Regions from separate parts of the Homo sapiens genome. Here regions 1, 3 and 4 are each linked to region 2. The links are contacts of gene promoters, found by promoter capture Hi-C in blood cells and fetal thymus (Javierre and others, 2016). All regions are on one chromosome and are shown on one strand. The core of a region is centred on a gene start or on the middle of the fragment in contact, and the rest is flanking DNA. Distances in the headings are between cores, read along the strand shown.

Region 1 (2,712 bases), core at 156-2,655, 5.4 Mb after region 2:
GCATGTGCCACCACACCTGGCTAATTTTGTATTTTTAGTAGAGATGGGGTTGCACCATGTTGGTCAGGCTGGTCTGAAACTCCTGACCTCAGGTGATCCACTCACCTCAGCCTCCCAAAGTGCTGGGATTACAGGCATGAGCCACCACACCTGGCTTGAGCTTACATTCTAATAGGGGAAACAGACATTAAAAACTAATACAATTTGATGTGACAAGTTTTTAAACTGAGATATAGAAGATGCAATGAGGAGTATATAGAAGACAGAGAGAAGGCTTCTTCATCCATCCAACATTTATCCCAGGCTCGGTGGCTCACACCTGTAACCCCAGCACTTTGGGAGGCCAAGGCAGGTGGATCACCTAAGTTCAGGAGTTCGAGACCAGCCTGACCAACATAGTGAAACCCCATTTCTACTAAAAATACAAAAATTAGTCAGGCGTGGTGGCAGGCATCTGTAATCCCAGCTACTCAGGAGGCTGAGACAGGAGAATTGCTTGACTCCAGGAGGGGGAGGTTGCAGTAAGCTGAGATCATGCCATTGTACTCTGGCTTAGGTGACAGAGTGAGACTCTGTCTCAAAAAAACAAAACAAAACAAAAACATTTATTTGGTTAGCGCCCACTAAGTGCCAGACACTATATTAGACTCTGCAAGTAAAATTATGAGCAAAATCAGATGAAGAACTACTCTTATGGGGCCAGGCACGGTGGCTCACACCTGTAATCCCAGCACCTTGGGAGGCCGAGACGGGTGAATTACTTTAAGTCAGGAGTTCAAGACCAGTCTGGCCAACAGAGTGAAACCCCATCTCTACTTAAAATACAAAAACGAGCTGGCCACGTCCCTGTAATCCCAGCTACTCAGGAGGCTGAGGCACGAGAATCGCTTGAACCCGGGAGGCAGAGGTTGCAGGAAAAAAAACTACCCTTATGGGCTTACGGGGAATGGAAACATAATGTTAATAGAATTGTCACCGAGTAAGTGCAAAATATTATGTTAGTCAGGGTTCTTGGTTACAGGCATGGAAACTGACTCAGGCTGACTTAAACAGAAAAGGAATTCACTGGGAGGACATGGGGTGGTTCACACGATCACAGGAAAGGCTGCAGACCAGGCTCAAAAAACTTACCGGCATTCCTCCTCCCAAGTTTTCTTTTTTCTTTTTTTCCTTTGTTTGGAGACAGGTTCTTGCTCTGTCACCCAGGCTGGAATGCAGTGGTAAGATCATAGCTCATTGAACCCTCAAGCTCCTGGGCTTAAGCAATCCTGCAACCTCAGCTTCAGCCTCCTGAGTAGCTGGGACTACAGATGCACCACCACAGCCGGCTAATTTTTCTTTTTCTTTTTGTACAGATGGCACCTCGCTATGCTACCCAGGCTAGTATCTAACTCCTGGCCTCAAACAATCCTCTCGCTTGGACCTCCAAAGTGTTGGTATTACAGGCATGAACCACCATCCCAGCCACCTCCCCAGTTTTCCATTGGACTCTTCTCCTCTGCCCTCTTCTAGGTATAACTTTCCTAAATCCAGAATCTTTGGGATTTGTATTTCCATTTCCAACTGGGGTAGGCTGTTAGATATGGGAGTCTGAGGTCTAATTGTGCTTTATGCTGATTTTCAAATATTCCATCACTTTTCAGCCCCCTCATCCCTCCTGCCTTCCTAAATACTTGATGCCACCAATTCCTGAGCCTTGGTGCAACTTGCATGCTTGACTTTGCTCTACCAAGTCAGGTATTCCAGTTTCTGTCGGCTTCCATTTTTGTTCTCATTGTTGTTTGGATGTGATTTTTGAGAGATGAGGGCAAAAACAACTTTGAGTTGATGTATTTTGTTGTCTTTGAGGCACAAGATTATTCACATAATTTTTTTTTTGAGATGGGGGTCTCACTCTGTCACCCAGGCTGGAGTGCAGTGGCACAGTCTCGGCTCACTGCAACCTCTGCCTCCCAGGTTCCCAGTTTGAAACGATTCTCCTGCCTCAGCCTCCTGACTAGCTGGGATTACAGGCACCTGCCACCATGCCAGGCTGATTTTTGTATTTTTTAGTAGAGATGGGGTTTCACCATGTTGGCCAGGCTGGTCTGGAACTCCCAACCTCAAATGATCCACCTCCCTTGGCCTCCCAAAGTGCTGGGATTATAGGCATGAGCCACTGTGCCTGCTCTAATTTTTATATTTTTAGTAGAGATGGGGTTTCACCATGTTGGCCAGGCTGGTCTTGAACTTTTGACCTCAGGTGATCTGCCTGCCTCGGCCTCCCAAAGTGCTGGGATTACAGGTGTGAGCCACCATGCCTGGTCATTTACAGATTTTTAAAAAATTAACATTAAATTGATTGAAGTAACAGTAAAGTGTAGTTTTTCCTCAAGTCTTCAAGTTTGATTTATAGTTCTTATTATTCTTTTTTTTTTTTAATTTAAGTTCTGGTATATATGTGTAGAACGCGCAGGTTTGTTACATAGGAATACATGTGCCGTGGTGGTTTGCAGCACCTATCAACTGGTCATCTGGGTTTTAAACCCCACATGCATTAGGTATTTTTCCTAATGCTCTCCCTCCCCTTGCCCCCCACCCCCGACAGGCCCCGGTGTGTGATGTTCCCCTCTCTGTGTCCATGTGTTCTCAATGTCCAGCTCCCACTTATGAGTGAGAACATGAGGTGTTTGGTTTTCTGTTCCTGTGTTAGTTTGCTGAGAATGATGGCTT
Region 2 (2,819 bases), core at 95-2,594:
TTTTTAGAATGCCTCTGAAAGAACAAAGAAGTCACTGGCACTCGACTATAATATGCTAAAAAGTTTCTGGTTCCAACAGCACACAGCCAGCATCAGGTGTTTTCTTTTTTGATAAATGCAGGCGGGGTGTGATGTGGGAGAACATTTTGTGTTTTCCTGTGAGAAAAAGATAGTAGAAAAGAAAGTAAACACTTTGAAATGGCAAATCTCTTTCTTCCTCCCTCCCCTCTGAATCCAGTAATCAAAAAACTGTGAACTTTTTTTAAATTTTATTTTTTTTCACTGTCAGTATTCAATATAACTGTGAACTTTTTAAAGGAAGATGTTTTATTCTTTGAGAACCCCCTTACTAGTTAGATACCTCTAAGTGAGATATAGTTGTTTAATTTTTCCAAGGGCTAAGTCAGTAACATGCTGGACAGTTGAGTACATGCAGATAAGACAAAGAAATGAGACCTGGGCCTAGTCCAAGCCCATAAAGGATGGCAGTAAAGTCAAAATTCCCCTACAACTTCAGGCTAGGAACTACTACATTCAATGAGATGGAAAGGCTACTATTCCTAAATATTTAGTATTTATTTTATTTAGTCATTGTCCATCTTATCACTTACCCTCAAAATATTCTTTTGAGCAGTAAGTTAAGGCTGTTTTTAGCTCGCAGTTGATTGACTACCATTACTCAAGCCATTTGGGCTGTTGGAGCTCACCTTTAATTAAACAAGATTCTTATGAAAAACTTGAGAATGAAATCTGGTTGTAGGTATTCCTGTACTTTTGGATTAGTCTAAGGCTGAAATTTCGCACTCACTCCGAAAAGAACATCAGAATCATTTCGACCATGCTATGCTGCACAATAAGGAGTAGTTCAAACGACAACTTTTTTTGATCCCAGGTGTTTTATTATAGGGTTTTCTGATAGTCTTACCGGAAAGGAAGTTTTCATTCTGCTTGGGAATCTGGGGATGTCTCTAGCCATTTCTAAACTTCTACAGTGCTTCCCCCACGAACTAAAGATAACAGGCAAGCAGTTTCCATTGGAACTGTGTTAAATCGACATCTGAAATGTTCATTGCTTATAATTTGATCTTATTTAATTTCCCAAAAAATCATTAGTTACTAGGTATTGCTAAGTACCCACGTTCGGGAAACGCATCTTTTTTTTTTTTTTTTCACGGTTATTAAAACCGAGGGTGGGGGGCGGAGGACGCACGTGGGAACCCACCAGGCGCCTCAGCTTCTGCACTACAACTCCCAGAAGGCGCCGCGGCCAGGAAGCCGCTTCTGGACGGGCGTTCCCGCCCCTCGCTGGGCTTGGTAGTTGGGGCGCAGCCGCGGTGGCTGGGCGCGGAGTGTGCGTGGCCTGAGCCGTGCGGGTGACTGCTTCAGGGCTTCTCCGCGACTGGACCGGGCGCCGCTCGAAAGCACGCCCTCCATTCGCACTGCTTGTTGGGCTCATCATGAAGCGCTTGGGCTCCGTGCAGCGGAAAATGCCGTGTGTGTTTGTGACGGAGGTGAAAGAGGAGCCTTCCTCCAAAAGGGAGCATCAGGTACGGAGGAGCGCCGGGCAGGCTTGGCGGCCCGCGTGGGCTCCTCCCCGCGGCGCTGGCTCAGTGCGAACCCGGCGAGGGCGGCTGGGCGCTTTAGAACTGCCCTGCAGGCCAGGAACCTCTGTAGGTTTCCCTGGGGAGGTCTGGGGTGGGAGTTCCGTACGCCCTGAGCTCCAGGTTCTTGTACTTTTCTTAGTTGTGAGGGAGGGAATTTGCGAAAGAATTTTCCTTATCAGGAGATTCAAACTTGTCCTCGCAAGGAAATGGATAACTCACATCCACAGCATGTCCCTTCCTTTTCAGGTCAGCACCTTTTGGGGAAACCCCCTAATCAGGTAATTGCCACAGTCCAAGCTTTACTACTTTTCAAGAGTGCAGTAAGAAAGGGTGGATATTAGAAGACTTGCTTTACCTGTTCTGTCCGAACCAGTGGCGGTGTTGACAGTAGCCTAATTAGGTCACTGAAGTTCACACCTCATATTACCAGTAATTACTTAATTTATTCTAACTTTGGTGTTCTCAAGGTTTTCTGTTGCAGCAACGTGTTTTCCATAGTGTGCCCTCGGTAAATGCTAGTGAGTAACCTATATTTGGGTAATTTTTTCATATTGTACTATAAAACGTTGTAGTCTTTGATCAGTAGAATCCCCAGTGATTAGTTGGGTGCTTCCCAACTTTGCTGATTTCAAACAAAACCAACATGTCCATTGGAAATCCACCTCACTTGAGTTTCATCATTGGCACTGGCTTTCTCGTCTTCTGGACTAAAACTTGTTTAAGGCAAAGATTGCCCTGTTATCTTTAGTCCCAGCTTCTAGGACCTGGCACGTGGTAGGCACTGGATAAATATTTGTTGAATTAAAGAATGAACCCTGGAATCATTTCATGCCAGTTTTCCATTCACCTTGATGCTTTTTACCTTATAGCATCTGATCTTTTCCTGCTTTCTAGTGCTGTCACAGCTGTTACAGTTAATATTTCATGTCCTGCTCATTGCACCACCTAACTGGTCTTACTTGCCACTCAGACTGATCATCACCATGTTCTTTCCTCGTCAGAATACCACAGTTATTACTCAATGTTTGTAGCAGTAATTGGCTTTTTTTTTTAGCTGTAACAAATGTAATCCATATGAAACATTATCATCTGTTTTAGTATTTCACTCTACTGTGATTTTCAACTTCGTATGTTTGAGGGGAGTAGTTTGTGAAAGTATTCTCCACCAGGGAAAATAAGCAGCCCCTTCTCTTACCTCTCTGCAGTTAAGAACAG
Region 3 (2,700 bases), core at 34-2,533, 5.3 Mb after region 2:
TTTGGGCTCTGCAGAAATCCCAGTTCCCTTTGCCTTGAAAGCTCTTGGTCAATTTAGCTCCTCCTCCTTCAGCCCTCAGCTCCTGCCTTGCTGCCCCAATAATCTTTTTCTGACTGCAGATCTGGTCAAATCTTTGTCTGAAACCTTAGAGCCCATTACATTTGTAGTTTTACGTGTACACGTGTGATCATTTAATATTTGACGGTGTGCTCTCAGGTGCCTACGCTCCTGGAGAGGCAGGGGCTGACTGGTTTTGTTAGATGCCAGTGCCTGACACACAATAGGCCCTCAAGGGGTGAAAAACCAACCAACCAAGTCAGGACCCAAGCAACCTGGGCCTCTGTGGAAGGGCAGAATGGCCTGAGTTTGGGTTTCTCGAGCTACCTTAAGATCAGGCCTCCTGGCTCCTATCTTAGCCCTTCTAACACTCTGAAGTGTAGAGGTTGTTTGTTCCAAGTCCCCAAGGTACTGTAAGCTCCCAGATAGCAGAAATCCCATTATATTTTAGTGCTGTGGCCCCAGCATCCAGCTGCGCTGTTACTTAGCATGAGATCCACATGAAAACCATTTCGCAACTATTAGCCATTGCCAGTATTAATACTTTCCGGAAGGTGGCACAAAGTGGGGGATGTTATAGACAGCTTCAAAGAAACGTTTAAGCTAGAGTTGACTCTTTAAATAATACAAGCCATCCCCAACCAAAGATTAAAAATTTAAATACAAAAAAAAAAAAAGGAAATTTGCCTACCCCCCATTTGTGAAAACAAAGAAAAAAAAAACAGTTAACGTCTTAACTTTTCTAGGCCTTCACTCTCGCCTCTCCCCGCGCTACAAGGGCGAATTCTGGACGTATCTACACAGTCACCGCGGAGTCTGCAATCGCCGCGACGTCCCCTGGCATTTCTTGGCCAGGCTGCAACTTTGGTGACGGTGTATGTAGTTACATCCCCTGTAGTGCAGCTGGTATTTAGGGTCCTCATTGGCAAAGTTGAGGGTATAAGCAGGGAGGGAGGGGACCTTGGCTTCTTTCCATTCACTGGCATGTTTTCGGGGCACGGTCATCCCACGCTGGGCTCCAGCGCCAGTCCCAAGGCCTCGCCGAACTCCAGCCCGGGAGTGCGCGCGGCCCCGCCCACCGGGCGGCCGAGGTCCCGCCCCTACCTCCCCCGCCACACCTACCCACCCACCCCATTGCAATGGTCTCTGCACGCAGGCGCAGTGGCGCGCGGGGGAGGCGGGGCGCATGTGGGCTTCATTTAAACAGAGCAGAGGGGGCGGCGCGCGGTCGCCGCGGTGCTGCTGCTCAGTGGGAGCGGGTCTTCGCAACTGTCTCCGCGTGGCGCGCGCCTCTAGCCGCCCTTCCCCTGGCGGCTACGGCCGGAGGGAGCGGAGGCGAGCGGGAGTCGGGCTCCATGGAGAGCGGCGGACAACTGGGCAGAGGCGGAGCTTTCATCTCGGCACCCTGGTTCCAGTGACCCGCGCTAGCGTCCCGTCCCGCCCGCGTCGGAGCGGCCGCCGGCCCCGGGACTGACCGGCCTCGCCGCACCTCCCGCACCGACTAGCGCTCCCGGGCGCTCCTGCGCCCGACTCGCCCTCGCCCCCACTCCCCGGCGGGGTGGCGGCGGCCGGGCCCCCACGGCGGCGGCCGGAGCAGCAGCAGCAGCAGCAGGAGCCCGCCTCTATGATGAAGTTCAAGCCCAACCAGACGCGGACCTACGACCGCGAGGGCTTCAAGAAGCGGGCGGCGTGCCTGTGCTTCCGGAGCGAGCAGGAGGACGAGGTAGGGCGCCCGGCGCCGCACGCTGCCCTCCGGGGCGCCGGGGTCTAGGGCCCGGGTGCTTCCCCTCGCTCCCCGCCCCTGCGCAGGCTGCGGGGCTGGGAGGGATTAGCCCCCTTCCTCCCTCCCTCCTTTCCTCCCTCACTCCTTTCCTCCCTCACTTCTTCCTTCCTTTCTCTGGGCTGATAGATGAGACAAAGGGGGCTCGCCCAGCCCCAGTTTCTCCATCTGGGCACTCGAGAAGGCGCCTGGTCCCCGGGAAGGTCCCGGGCCGCGTAAGTCTCGCCTAGCGGGAGTCACCATCTTAACGTGCGAATTGAGTTGAAAGCCGGATAAACCTCGAGTGCTCAGCGAGAGGAGGGTGGAAATGGCGTGAGTGTTGCAGCAGAGCCCTTGTGCCTCTTTTACATATTTTCCTTCCATGTTACAGCCGTTTGCGGTCTCGGATTCGATCTAAGCATGTTTGTGGAGTAACAGACAGTCCTCGTGCTTGGAATTGAGTCTAGTCTTGGCAATTCTTGTGGGTCCATGAACCCGCAAGCTGTTGGCATAATTATGCCTCATTTTTAAAACGGCCTTCCCTTCTTAAAGTTTTCTGACTGCAGAAAAATGGTTAGTGAAAAATGTGGAATAATGCCAAAAGGGAGACGATGGACTAGAGATGGGCAAAGCTGCCATTTTCAGACAGTAATCTCCAGCTCTCAGCTTATGTATAAAGGGTTCTTTGCTGTCTGGCTTGACATCTGGAAAGGAGTAGCCTTTCTCGTTCTCAGAGCAGTCGTTCTTGGATAATTTACCCATCTGCATTGGGCTGAGAATGAGACCCTTGGGGTTTCCCTGGAGAGCGATTTTTACTTAATTCAGTAGTATTTATTTAAAATGGCTAACTGTTGAAGTTTGCTTAGGGCAATAGTAGCCTTTTG
Region 4 (2,700 bases), core at 8-2,507, 5.4 Mb before region 2:
TGTGGGAGGATGTTGACAACTAACTGGCTTTTACATGAAATCCACCGTAAAACACAAGTGGTGTTGGTCAGCCGACAGCTTACGCTATTCTGTCTAATAAATTAGCCACTAGCCACATGTCACTAAATTTAAATTAATTGAAATTAAACAAAATTAAAAATGCAGTTCCTCAGTCACAGTAGCCACATTTCAATTGCTCAATGGCCACATATAACTAATGAACAGTGCAACAGAAAATCACCTCTGCAGCAAGTTCTGCTGGACAACACTGGCTTAAAAGTTTCATATGGGTTAAACATCAAGGCAACATTCATGAATAGCTGGTGAATTTAACTAATGTCCACGTCAAAATTAATTTTCCTTAAAGAATCTGAGGCTTATCAAAATTTGTTTCCTGATGGTGCAATTTTTCAAGCTGTTAGAGCATTCTTGATCACTGTTTATATCAGTGCATGTGAATGCATTCAGAGAGATTCTATAAAGGAGGCTGTCCTTGCTTTTCTTGATTGAGTTTTTGAATTCTATCATTAGCCTCAACATCTCTGCAATTATTCATATCTGGTTATTAACATGTTATTTCTATACTCCTCCTCCTCCTTGTCTCCTCCCTCACCCCCACATTCTCAGACTTGGAAGCTGGGGAGACTGTGAGATTCTTAAAGTGATCATTATTTTGCTAGCAGCTGGTTCTTAACAGTCCCTGTTTTGAGACACAGGTGACAAGATCTGTTTCCGTGGCTGCCTTGTTCTACTTCTATTCCTAATGGATCACAAGTCTTGGGATAAAGTGATGTTATACATTGTAGTGTCTGCAGGGCAGCACTTTATGGTATGCTGGGAAGAATCTAAATGTAACATGTGTTGCCAATGCATTTACAGTCATTAGTTAACCAAGCCGCCCATGTGCCTGTCTCAGCTCCCTGACCCACATTTCATCCATGCTCTGCTGTTTTTCTCCTGCAGGGTTATTTCCTGAGTAAATCCCAGAGCTTATGAGTCCCCCAGCAGAGAGCTCTGTTCTGACCTCCCTAAACAGGCAGTTTCACCTGCTGGGCTAGTGTTTTTCTGCTTCTTAGTCAATCTGTTAAAATTTTAGCAGGAGATACTTGGATACCTTTTCAGAAAACATATGGAAGATTGTAATTATTTTGGCCCAGTACAATTTTAGAATTGAGAGAGCAAGGAAGAGGCGCAAATCTCCTGCTCATAAATAACCAAATCTGTGGGCACTTTAAAAAGCATTCTGTGCAGCAAGAGAATTTACGTGCCACATTTCACCCTTGGCACACTTTCCAAATGAATTGTTCAAAGAGAAGTTATATTAGGACAAATAGAAATGACGACCAGGACCAGATGTGGATCTTTAGTTAATATTTATGCAACACCCAAAGGGAAGATAGTATTGCACAATAAACTAAAAATGTCTTAGGCAAATAAGGAAATCTTTACCCTGAGGAACTGGCACTGCAAAGGTATGAATTATACAACAAAGGACTGAGAATGCAGAACAAATGCAGGGTAGGTCGGGGCTACTATAAAAAGGAATTCATTGAGGAAGTGGTGAGGTAGCAGATGTGTGGAGCCTACTTCAGGAAAATAAGGGCTTAGCGCTTTTTTGGCCAGTATTGTGTCTAAGGTAGAAAATTCAAGCCAGCCATCCTAATTTCCTTCACCTGTGGAGAGCAACTGTCGCTTTAAATAGAACATACACATATTCAGAACTGATGCTGCAACCTTACATCAAATAAGTACACCTTGATAAACTAAAAACCTATGTCCTCAGATTTTAAATGATCTCCAACAATAATGATGACATCTTTAATCTGATTTTCCTCCTAAAGTTGTTCCAGGAAGGTAGAAAATTCAGGAATTGGCTGCTTCTCAGCCCTTGGAGAGCAATCTAAAAGAGACCATGGCTTAATGCTCTGGAAGGATATTGAAACCTACATTAAATTATAATAGAAAAATTTGTTAAAAGCAACTGGATTTCTCAAACACAGCTAGGTTTTCAGCCTTCTGTTTATCAGGGAAGGCAAGATGTGCCATTTTACAGCCCATCTCCCAGTCACCTAGGCTTCCAATTCAGAGGTATTGGGAGGTGGGGAAAGGAGAAAACGAGGAGATGGAGGAGTGTATAAAATTTATTTAAAACTATTGGAGCCATGGCTGGGCGCAGTGGCTCATGCCTATAATCCCAGCACTTTGGGAGGCCAAGGCAAGTGGATAACTTGAGGTCAGGAGTTCAAGACCAGCGTGGGCAACATGGTAAAACCCCCGTCTCTATTAAAAATACAAAAATTAGTCGGGCTTGATGGCACACACCTACAATCCCAGCTACTGGGGATGCTGAGGCAGGAGAATCGCTTGAGCCCGGGAGGCAGAGGTTGTAGTGAGCCAAGATCGGGCCACTGCACTCCAGCTTGGGCGACAGAGTGAGATTCTGTTTCAAAAAAAAAAAAAAATTAAAAATTAAATTAAACTATTGGAGCCTTAAAAATGAACACAGCTGTGGAAAAGGCTTACAAGCTTTTAGCATGTGGAACCCAAAGCTCTCTAATATTTTTACATATCTGAGTCCTCTTAATAACTGAAGAGACCTGTCCATGTGACTCCCCTTCACGGGTATTCCTGCAGACTTGATGTATTCTGAAAAACTGTGAACCTGCTCCCTTCCTCTCTCCTTGGTTAATACTTCACGAT

Evidence for each region. The method cuts DNA at HindIII sites, captures the fragments that hold promoters and counts their contacts. A CHiCAGO score of 5 or more calls a contact.
Region 1: a contact is called between a fragment that was not itself captured here and the fragment with the promoter of RLIG1 in region 2, in 1 of 17 cell types (non-activated CD4 T cells). The highest score is 5.1, in non-activated CD4 T cells.
Region 3: a contact is called between the fragment with the promoter of NUDT4 here and the fragment with the promoter of RLIG1 in region 2, in 2 of 17 cell types (non-activated CD4 T cells and activated CD4 T cells). The highest score is 6.3, in non-activated CD4 T cells.
Region 4: a fragment that was not itself captured here is called in contact with the fragment with the promoter of RLIG1 in region 2 in 2 of 17 cell types (naive CD8 T cells and total CD8 T cells); the score reaches 9.4 in naive CD8 T cells.

What each region holds. Positions count from the first base shown.
Region 1 is chr12:93,452,699-93,455,410 of GRCh38, forward strand. No RefSeq gene overlaps it. Among named protein-coding and RNA genes, the nearest start is that of UBE2N, 12 kb to the left of the region's middle. The HindIII fragment of the contact is 9,169 bases long and covers 1-2,712 here.
Region 2 is chr12:88,034,192-88,037,010 of GRCh38, forward strand. RLIG1 (RNA 5'-phosphate and 3'-OH ligase 1) reads left to right here and starts at 1,345. Exons shown (of 7, transcript NM_001009894.3): 1 at 1,345-1,547. The coding sequence starts at 1,458. LOC107984542 (a long non-coding RNA gene) reads right to left here and starts at 1,305. Exons shown (of 3, transcript XR_007063395.1): 1 at 1,223-1,305; 2 at 1-156. The HindIII fragment of the contact is 2,128 bases long and covers 1-1,899 here.
Region 3 is chr12:93,376,642-93,379,341 of GRCh38, forward strand. NUDT4 (nudix hydrolase 4) reads left to right here and starts at 1,284. Exons shown (of 5, transcript NM_019094.6): 1 at 1,284-1,780. The coding sequence starts at 1,682. It overlaps LOC643339 (a long non-coding RNA gene), which reads right to left and starts at 1,095. Exons shown (of 5, transcript NR_040096.1): 1 at 796-1,095. RefSeq lists an enhancer at 880-1,819 and silencers at 1,056-1,395, 1,616-1,915. The HindIII fragment of the contact is 6,665 bases long and covers 1-2,700 here.
Region 4 is chr12:82,681,591-82,684,290 of GRCh38, forward strand. No RefSeq gene overlaps it. Among named protein-coding and RNA genes, the nearest start is that of TMTC2, 4.0 kb to the right of the region's middle. The HindIII fragment of the contact is 2,534 bases long and covers 1-2,524 here.